Linked DNA regions of Homo sapiens: regions 1 and 3 are each linked to region 2. Evidence: promoter capture Hi-C in human tissues and cell types (Jung and others, 2019). All regions are on one chromosome and are shown on one strand. The core of a region is centred on a gene start or on the middle of the fragment in contact, and the rest is flanking DNA. Distances in the headings are between cores, read along the strand shown.

Region 1 (3,455 bases), core at 46-2,545, 230 kb after region 2:
CAGGTGCAGGGTGTCCCAGCTCATAAGAGAGAGCAAATTCTCCTTTCCTCTGCCTTTTTGTTCTATTCAGGCCCTCGGCCAATTGGATGGTGCCCACCACATTGGGTAACAACGGGTCTTCCTTACTCAGTCCATTGATTCAAATGCCAATCTCTTCTGGAAACACCCCAGAGTCATACCCAGAATTAACGCATCACCAGCTATCTGATAAACTTAACCAGTCAAGGTGACACCTAAAATTAACCATCACAATTATAAAAATAACTACTCAGAGAAACATTAGGAGCATGAACTGAAATTAGTTAATGGGACATTCTTAAACCAATGGCAGAAGCTCCTTCTTGGCCAGGAGCAGTGGCTCATGCCTTTAATACTAGCACTTTGCGAGGCTGAAGCAGGAGGATGGCTTAAGGCCAGGAGTTCAAGACTGGCCTGGGCAACATAGTGAGACCCCTATCTCTACAAAAATAAATAAATAAATAATAAAGTAAGGTGGTGGCTCACGCCTGTAATCCCAGCACTTTGGGAGGCCAAGGCAGGCAGATCATCTGAAGTCAGGAGTTCGAAGCCAGCGTGACCAACATAGTAAAACCCAGTCTCTACTAAAAATACAAAAACTAGCCAGGCGTGATGGCATGCACCTGTAATCCCAACTACTTAGGAGGCTGAGGCAGGAGAATCGCTTCAACTCGGGAGGCAGAAGTTGCAGTGAGCCAAGATTGCACCATTGCACTCCAGCCTGGGCAACAAGAGCAAAACTACGTCTCAAAAAATAATAATAACAATAAAATAAAAAACAAGCTTTTTTTTTTTTGAAACAGGATCTCACTCCATCACCCAGGCTGGAGTGCAGTGGCACGATCTTGGCTCACTGCAACCTCCGCCTCCCGGGTTCAAGTGATTCTCATGCCTCGGCCTCCTGAGTAGCTGAGACCACAGGCGCATGCCACCACACCTGGCTAATTTAGAATAAAAAAGAAGCTTCCTCTCTGCCACTCAGGTAGCCTTATCCCTAATCTCAGCCTCCGTCAGGGACTCCCTGAGGCCAGTTGGCTGAAAGCTGCCCAGGGAGTTCTAAGGATTTCAGTTTCTCTTTCCTTCTTGATGCAGCTCCCAGCTCACTTGGCCCTGCCCACACCTGTTCCCTCATCAGGCTCCCAGACGGGCCCCGCCCACTCATGCCTCTTAAGTCAAAGTGGAAATTCTCATTTCCAATTACCTTTTCACTTTACACACATCATCTTGGATTGCCCATTTTGCGTGGCTAAAAAGCAGAGCCATGCCGCTGGGGAAGCAGTTGCGATTTAGCCATGGCTGCAGCTTGGACCGTGGTGCTGGTGACTTTGGTGCTAGGCTTGGCCGTGGCAGGCCCTGTCCCCACTTCCAAGCCCACCACAACTGGGAAGGGCTGCCACATTGGCAGGTTCAAATCTCTGTCACCACAGGAGCTAGCGAGCTTCAAGAAGGCCAGGGACGCCTTGGTGAGTTCCTGTTGCTGTGGATGAACCACTTCTACGGGTGTCCCAATTACTGCCCTTCTACTGTGGGCTAGCCTCTAGCCTTCCAACTATGGCAAACCTCTATCCTTTCTGCACTGGGTTAAACCCATGCTGTCAGGCCAACTTCATCCTTGCTGCTATGAGCTAGCTTCCAGCCATCCTGCTGTGGGCTAACCCCTGCCCTTGCTCTCTAGGAAGAGTCACTCAAGCTGAAAAACTGGAGTTGCAGCTCTCCTGTCTTCCCCGGGAATTGGGACCTGAGGCTTCTCCAGGTGAGCTGAAAGTCAGGCCCCCTTCACCCTTCCCTTGACCCTCTCCCCCCTCTTCTTAAGTGGCCCCTTAGCCTTCTTTGTTTCCCTTGTCCTTCACTCTCTTGGACCTCTCCTCACCTGTCCTGTGCCCCTGCCACTTCAAAACTGCTCTCTTGACTCTGTCCTTCCCCTGGGTCCCTTTTATCATCTCCCATCGGCCCCACTTCCCTAGCTCGCTCACCTGTCCCTGTCACTTCCACTCTCACTCTTCATTTCTCTCCCAAATGTCTCCAGTCTGTCGCCCACCTGTGCCTTTCGTCCTGCTCCACTTCTCCCTGTCTGTTCCCAACACTGACCCCCTCTCCCTCTCACCTGCCTCTGTCACCTGTCCCTCATTATCTCTCACTGACATTCATCCAGCTCATGCTCCCCCCTCATCCACCCTTCTCTTTTTTTTTTTTTTTTTTTTTTTTTTGAGACAGAGTCTTGCTCTATGGCCCAGGCTGGAGTGCAGTGGCATGATCTCGGTTCACTGCAACCTCTGCCTCCCGGGTTCAAGCAATTATCCTGCCTCAGCCTCCCGAGTAGCTGGGATTACAGGCATGTGCCATGATGCCCAGCTAATTTTTGTATTTTTAGCAGAGACGGGGTTTCACTATGTTGGCCAGGCTTGGTCTCGAAATCCTGACCTCAGGTGATCCACCCGCCTCGGCCTCCCAAAGTGCTGGGATTACAGGCGTGAGCCACCACACCCAGCCCTACCCTTCTTCTCTGTGCATGCAACTGTCCCTCTCTTACTGTGCCCCCAACCTGCTTTCTCCTCACCCGTCCCCACCCCGCCCCAGAGAACTTCTGTGACCCCCGTAAGTCCCCTTTCATTTGTCTCCATTTCACTTATCCCCTCACCTGCCTCCTTGACCATCCTGCCTCACCTGTATCCTTCCTCATGTCTTCCCCCTCCTGTCTCCTTCTCCCCAGACCCCTCACCTGTCCCCACCACATGCACTGTGTCACCGACCTTCCCCAGGACTGCCTACCTGTCCCCACTAACTGGGTCTTCTTGCCTGTTCTCCCTCACCTGCTCTTTCTCACCTCTCCTCAGGTGAGGGAGCGCCCTGTGGCCTTGGAGGCTGAGCTGGCCCTGACGCTGAAGGTCCTGGAGGCCGCTGCTGGCCCAGCCCTGGAGGACGTCCTAGACCAGCCCCTTCACACCCTGCACCACATCCTCTCCCAGCTCCAGGCCTGTGTGAGTCCTTGGGGCCCGGGCACCCAGGTCTGTGGGCTCTGAGCAGCATCCTTCCCCTGTGGTGGCCCAGGCTCCGCCTCACACACCGCCCTCTTCTGCCCACAGATCCAGCCTCAGCCCACAGCAGGGCCCAGGCCCCGGGGCCGCCTCCACCACTGGCTGCACCGGCTCCAGGAGGCCCCCAAAAAGGTGAGTGACCCAGGAAGAGAAGGACCAGGGTCTGGGGAGCCAATAGGAGCCCAGACCCTGGACAGCCCCTGACCCATCCCCTCCTCCCCTACAGGAGTCCGCTGGCTGCCTGGAGGCATCTGTCACCTTCAACCTCTTCCGCCTCCTCACGCGAGACCTCAAATATGTGGCCGATGGGAACCTGTGTCTGAGAACGTCAACCCACCCTGAGTCCACCTGACACCCCACACCTTATTTATGCGCTGAGCCCTACTCCTTCCTTAATTTATT
Region 2 (3,511 bases), core at 56-2,555:
ATACTCATAACCAGGTTTGTTGTCGTCGTTGTTAGAGACAGGGTCTCGCTCCATCACCCAGGCTGGAGTGCAGTGGTGTGATCATGGCTCACTGTAATCTCAAACTCCTGGGCTCAAGCGATCCTCCCAACTCAGCCTCCCAAACTGTTGTGATTACAGGCATGAGCCACCGCACCGGGCCCGTAAACAGTTTTAAATTTTTCAGGAATGCAACTACTGGGTAGAACCAGGAATGTGTGTTCATTGTTCACCATTTGGTGCCAGAGTCACAAAGCTGTGTCTGTCTTTATTTGTGGCTCTCCAGCTGGCATTCACAAAGCTTCTGCCCCTGGCACACCCCTAACCCTTTATTATGTTTTATAGCTTAGTTAAGTCTGAGCTTTTTGAACATTTTACTATAAATTACTTTCCGCTTATTCTTTCTTCATTATAATAAGGACATTATCTTGATTAAAAATTTTATTTTGTATGTGGGTGGGTTATATTATCCATAAACTTTATTTCAGGGTGGTAAAGGGAGCATATAAAATATTTATTATAACACTAATCTATGCTAAAAATCAAAACAGCCGTTACCCCTGGGGGTGGGGGGCGGGCGGTAAGAGGATTGACTGCAAAAGGGCACAAAGGAATGTTCTGGAGAGAAATGTTCTCTGCCTTGATTGAGGTGGTGTACAATTGTCAAAACTCATCCAACTGCACACTTAAAGTGGGCGCGTTTTACCGTAATTATAATGTAAATTATACCTCACTCGAGTGGAATAAAACAAATTTTAAAATATCTGCATAGAAACTTTAAAAGTATAGATTTGGCCAAGCATGGTGGCTCAGGCCTGTAATCCCAGCACTTTGGGAGGGCAAGGTGGGTGGATCACCTGAGGTCAGGAGTTCAAGACCAGACCAGCCTGGCCAACATGGAGAAACCCCACCTGTACTAAAAATACAAAATTAGCCAGGCGTGGTGGCGGGTGCCTGTAATCCCAGCTGTCTGGGAAGCTAAGACACAAGAAGCGCTTGAACTCGGGAAGCAGAGGTTGCAGTGAGCCAAGATCTTGCCACTGCACTCCAGCCTGGGCAACAGAGCAAGACCCTGTCTCAAAATTAACAAAAAACATAGACTTGTTCTAGAAAGCAGATAGAGATCTGCTAAGGCCTTGAAATCAATTAAGTGGATTTAGACCAGCATTTAAAAACAAAAGCAAAAACAGAAGAGATTAGAGGCTGGCACTGCCCACATTGTGAGTCTTGCACAAGTTATATAAAACTTTTTTTTTTTTGAGACAGAGTCTCACTCTGTCACCCAGGCTGGAGTGCAGTGGCATGATCTCAGCTCACTGCAACCTCCGCCTCCTGGGTTCAAGCAATTCTCCCACCTCACCCTCCCGAGTAGCTGGGATTACAGATGCGTGCCACCATGCCCGGCTAAATTTTTTTGTACTTTTAGTAGAGACGGGGTTTCACCATGTTGGCCAGGCAGGTCTTGAACCCCTGACCTCAAGTGATCCACCTGCCTTGGCCTCCCAAAGTCCTGGGATTACAGGCGTGAGCCACCGCAACTGGCCAAGTTTTGTAAACTTTAATTATGTAATAGATATACATATATGCATGTGTGCTAGGTTGTGATATAAGTACATGTCTTATTTTGAACTGTAGTCAAAAACATTGAAAAAACTAAAATGGTACTTGCCAGACTTTCAAACATAGATCTCTTACCTCTTTTGCAGCAATGTCTGAGATATGATTAGATCATCATGATTTTATCCGAGAAGACTGACAGTCAGAAGCTTGTGTTTGAAAGAGGATTAAACGTGGTAGAGTGAGTTCTAATAACAGAAATCACAGGGATGGGGAATAAAAAGAGTGTTGGGGTGAGAGCTGAATGCTCATCGTTCATAATGATGTCTATATTTGATCAATCCAGAATTAACATGACAAACCTGGAAAAATACTTCCAAATTGCATCACATGCAAAGGGCTAATTTTAATAGATTTCCCACAAATGAATAAGAAAAGGAACAATCTCATCAGGGGAAAAAATACACAGAGAATGTGAACAAATAGTTCATAGAAAAGGAAATAAGAATGGCTCTTAAGTCCGGGCGCCGTGGCTCACGCCTGTAACTCCAGCACTTTGGGAGGCTGAGGTGAGTGGATCACTTGAGGTCAGGAGTTCGAGACCAGCCTGGCCAACATAATGAAACCCTGTCTCCACTAAAAATACAAAAATTAGTCGGGCGTGGTGGTGGGGGTCTGTAATCCCAGCTACTCGGGAGGCTGAGACAGGAGAATCGCTTGAACTCAGGAGGCAGAGGTTGCAGTGAGCCGAGATCGCACCACTGCATTCCAGCCTGGGCAACAGAGCGAGACCGTCTTTTTTTTTTTTTTTTTTTCTGAGACGGAGTCTCGCTCTGTCACCCAAGCTGGAGTGCAGTGGTGCGATCTCAGCTCACTGCAAGCTCCACCTCCCGGGTTCACGCCATTCTCCTGCCTCAGCCTCCCGAGTAGCTGGGACTACAGGCGCCTGCCACCGCGCCTGGCTAATTTTTTGTATTTTTAGTAGAGACGGGGTTTCACCATGTTAGCCAGGATGGTCTCGATCTCCTGACCTCGTGATTCACCCGCCTCGGCCTCCCAAAGTGCTGGGATTACAGGTGTGAGCCACCATGCCCGGCTGCCACACACTTTTAAATGACCAGATCTCTTGAGAACTCACTCACTACCAAGGGGATGGTGCTCACCCATTCATGAAGGATCCACCCCATGATCCAATCACCTCCCACCAGGCTCCACCTCCAATGTTGGAAATTGCAATTCAACATGAGATTGGTGGTGATAGCACCTAGACTATATCGGCCACGGTACCTAGAGCATAACGTGCAGTGATGAAAAACAAATCCAACAGCTTGTCAAGGTCATCAGTGACTTCCATGGTGCCAAATCCAAAGTTCAATTCTTTTTTTTTTTTTTTTTTGAGATGAAGTCCCTCTCTGTCACCCTCTCTGTCCAGGCTGGAGTGCAGTGGTACAATCTCAGCTCACTGCAACCTTGGCCTCCTGGGTTCAAGCGATTCTGCTGCCTCAGTCTCCTCTGTAGCTGGGACTACAGGCATGTGCCACCACACCTGGCTAATTTTTGTATTTTTAGTAGAGATGGGGTTTCACCGTGTTGGCCAGGCTGGTCTCAAACTCCTGACCTCAAGTGATCCGCCCACCTCAGCCTCTCAAACTGCTGGGATTACAGGCATGAGCCACCGCACCCAGCCTCAATTCTTATTTTCTTTTCTTTCTTTTTTTTTTTTTGAGACAGTCTTACTCTTGTCACCCAGGCTGGAGTGCAGTGGCCAATCTCGGCTCACTGCAACTTCCACCTCCTGGGTTAAAAAGATTCTCCTGCCTCAGCCTCCCAGGTAGCTGGGATTACAGGCACCCGCCACCACTCCCGGCTGAGGGCCTCGTATTATAAGAATATTTGTGATTGCATTTGGAGCCTACATGGATTATCCAGGATCATC
Region 3 (3,600 bases), core at 1-2,500, 250 kb before region 2:
TCAACGTGTTAAGGCCCTTTTTAAAAAGCTAAGACTGGGCCAGGCGCAGTGGCTCACGCCTGTAATCCCAGCACTTTGGGAGGCCGAGATGGGAGGATCACTTGAGGTCAGGAGTTCGAGACCAGCCTGACCAACATGGTGAAACCCCATCTCTACTAAAAATACAAAAATTAGCCAGTGTGCTGGCACATGCCTGTAATCCCAGCTACTCAAGAGGCTGAGGCAGGAGAATCGCTTGAACCTGGGAGACAGAGGTTGCAGTGAGCCAAGATCATGCCATTGCACTCCAGCCTGGGCGACAAGAGCAAAACTCCATCTCAAAACAAAAAAAAAAACAAAAAAAACAAAAACAGAAAAGAAAAGAAAATGAAGCACAGAGAGGTATAGTCACTTTCACTCTTTCACCAACACAGAGCTGGGGAGTGGCAGAGCTGGGATTTTAACTCGGGGACCCGGCTCTGAGCCTGTGATCTGAATTCCTGCCATTGCACCCATCAGCTTCAGTCTAATGTCCAACTCAGGGACTGCCTCTCACGGTGAGCCCTCCCTGAACCTTCTGGCCCCCACGTCCCCACTCCTGATCTGCCCCAGATTCATCTCTGGCTATTGGGTGGGGCAGAAAAAGAGTCCCCTCTCCACCAGGGTGGGGTAAGGGCAGAAAGCCCCCAACAGCCAGGCCCAGAGCACCCAGTTGGAAGTCCCCTGCCAGCCCGGCCTGGCTTGGGGAGGGTCTTACCGCTTCATGTGCTCGCTGGCCACTCCTTGGATGTAAACAGACATTCCCACGTTGAGCCCGCCCGGGATGGGCTGGTAGTAAGGCAGCGTCTGGAGAAGAGGCCTGGTGAGGGGACTCACAAGCCATCTGCCTGTTGCAGCCTTTACCCCTCCCAGAAAAGCCCCCCAGTCCCTTAAGCAGGAGAGAGGAAACCATGGGGGAGGACCAGGTTGAAGATGACGAGGGCCAACAGTTAGACGTGGACACAGACAGCCTGAGGTCAGGGTAGGAGTAAATCGAGGGTCGGGGTCAGCTTTGGGTAAATCAGACCACAGAGTCAGATGGGGCCCCCCAGGATCAGAGTGGGGAAAATTGGTGTGAGGGCTTATGGACGGAGCTGCGGGCGGAGTGGGGCCTGAGCTGGCATCTCACCGGGTTGTAGGTGGGCTGGTAGCCCGGTGCGGGGACATAGGCCATCGCTCGAGGCTGCGCTAGTGGCTGGTCCTGTGAGAAGAGCTGCAGGAGTGGGAGATGGTGGCGGATGGCAGGCGGTGGTGGCTCTTATACCCAGGGTAAGGGAGTGGCTGGCAGGGGAGGGTCCACAGGGCTCCTCTTCTGGGACTCTCAGGCTGTCGGCTTCTCCTAGAGCGCACCCTAGTCTCCCTTCCCTTGCCAGCTTCCCTGGTGACCAGCCAGGACCCAAATCACCTGGGTCCCCTCCCCTACGCCCTCCTGCAAAGAGGAAGTGCTCATGAACTTCGGCCCTGCCAGGGCCTTATCAGAGCCCATAAAACCCTGCCCAGACTTCTGTTGGCAGAGGGAGGGTGAGACCAGGCAGGGCAGGGCAGGCTGCAGGAATGACCCAGGACAGGTGGGCAGCGGAGGAGGAGAACGCGGAGGAACTGCAAATTCCTGCCTCTCCCAGCAACTGTGAAGGGACCTACGTTGATTGCGTGCCCACCACACATCTTTACCACGTATGTTGTATTGTAGGGAGAGTGGTTTAGATTACTAGTGTGTGGAGCCAGAGGTTCTAGGTTCAAATCCTGCCTTTGCCACTTCTCAGCTGTATGATCATGGGTCAGTGCCTTACCCTCAATTTGCCCATGTGCTCATCTGTAAAATGGGGATATAGTAGTATCGGCTGGGTGCAGTGGCTCATGCCTGTAATCCCAGCACTTTGACTGGCCGAGGTGGATGGATCACCTGAGGGCAGGAGTTCGAGACCAGCCTGGCAAAATCCCAGTCTCTACTAAAAATACAAAAATTAGCCAGGCATGGTGGTGGGTGCCTATAATCCCATCTACTTGGAGGCTGAGGCAGGAGAATCACTTGAACCTGAGTGGAGGAGAGTGCAGTGAGCCAAGGTCACGCCACTGCACTCCAGCTTGGATGACAGATGGAGACTCTGTTTCAAAAAAAAAAAAAAAAAAAAAGGAATTCATAAGAGAGGAAACAAGTATTGAATAGCTATCAAAATATTTTAAAAATGAATTTGTGATCCAGTAATGCCTGTATGTTATTAATCTGCCAAATAAGTTCTAGCTGTGGGTCCAACTGCCACTCAGAAAAATAAATAAATAAAGAAAAGAGTAGTATCAACCTTAGGCTGGGTGTGGTGGCTTGTGCCTACAATCCCAGCAATTTGGGAAGCTGAAGCAGGAGGACTGCTTGAGCCCAGGAGTTCAAGACCAGCCTGGGCAACATAGTGAGACCCCCATCTCTACAAAAATAAAATAAAAATTAGCTGGGCATGGTAGCACACATCTGTATTCCTAGCTACTCAGAGGCTGAGGCAGGAGGATCGCTTGAACCCAGGAGTTAAGGTTACAGTGAGCTATGATCATGCCACTGCACTCCAGCCTGGGTGACAGACTAAGAGTCCGTCTCTAAAAATAGCAACAATAATAGTCATAATAATAATAATCATAATAGTATCAACTTCATAGAGTCCTTGATCATTAAGATAATAAATGCTCAGAACAGGACATAGCATATAGAAGTCATTAACTTAATGCTTGGTCTCTTGCAGTCATTCCAAACATAAATCCGGAAGATTGGGATGATATATGGATAAAAAATCCCAAAGTTTTGTTTGCTCATTTTTGAGACAGAGTCTTGCTCTATCACCCAGGCTGCAGTGCAGTGGCACCATCTCAGCTCACTGCAACCTCCACCTCCCAGGTTCAAGGGATTCTCCTGCCTCAGCCTTCTGAATAGCTGGGATTACAGGCTTACTCCACGCCTGGCTAATTTTTGTATTTTTAGTAGAGACCAGGTTTTGCCATGTTGGCCAGGCTGGTCTCAAACTCCTGACCTCAAGTGATCCACCTGCCTCAACCTCCCAAAGTGCTGGAATTACAGGCATGAGCCACTGCACCCGGCCAGAAACCCCAAAGTCCTTTTTTGTTTTGTTTTTTCTTTTTTTGAGACAGAGTCTCACTCTGTCACCCAGGCTGGACTGCAGCAGCATGATCTCAGCTCACTGCAAACTCACCTCCTGGGTTCAAGGATTCTCCTGCCTCAGCCTCCCGAGTAGCTGGGACTAGAGGCACCTGCCACCACACCTAGCTAATTTTTGTATTTTTAGTAGAGACTGGGTTTCAACATGTTGACTAGGCTGGTTGCAAACTCCTGAGCTCAGGCAATCCACCTGCGTCAGCCTCCAAAAGTGCTGGGATTACAGGTGTGAGACGCCAGCATCAGATCCCATGTGCTGTGCAGTGAGAGGTGCCAGGCAGGGCACGAACGCCACCCTCAACCCCAGGGCAGGCAGGGAGACCAGGAAGCCTTGCAACCCAGAGGGACCCCAGCGACTTTTGCTCACTCCCTCCGCCCCGGAATTCCTTGTGCCCCTCGCCTGCCCGCTGCCAGTCTGAATGGCC

The links. Contacts are between HindIII fragments. The study calls those that stand out against the background at their distance.
Region 1: the fragment with the promoter of IFNL1 here is called in contact with a fragment that was not itself captured in region 2 in 9 of the 25 tissues and cell types used here (H1 embryonic stem cells, adrenal gland, dorsolateral prefrontal cortex and 6 more).
Region 3: the fragment with the promoter of LGALS4 here is called in contact with a fragment that was not itself captured in region 2 in 1 of the 25 tissues and cell types used here (thymus).

What each region holds. Positions count from the first base shown.
Region 1 is chr19:39,295,112-39,298,566 of GRCh38, forward strand. It overlaps IFNL1 (interferon lambda 1), which reads left to right and starts at 1,296. Exons shown (of 5, transcript NM_172140.2): 1 at 1,296-1,481; 2 at 1,694-1,771; 3 at 2,853-2,996; 4 at 3,102-3,185; 5 at 3,280-3,455. The coding sequence starts at 1,311. The coding sequence ends at 3,405. The HindIII fragment of the contact is 11,779 bases long and covers 193-3,455 here.
Region 2 is chr19:39,064,375-39,067,885 of GRCh38, forward strand. No RefSeq gene overlaps it. Among named protein-coding and RNA genes, the nearest start is that of ACP7, 18 kb to the right of the region's middle. The HindIII fragment of the contact is 4,534 bases long and covers 1-3,511 here.
Region 3 is chr19:38,811,695-38,815,294 of GRCh38, forward strand. It overlaps LGALS4 (galectin 4), which reads right to left and starts at 1,251. Exons shown (of 10, transcript NM_006149.4): 1 at 1,148-1,251; 2 at 737-825. The coding sequence starts at 1,192. The HindIII fragment of the contact is 29,723 bases long and covers 1-3,600 here.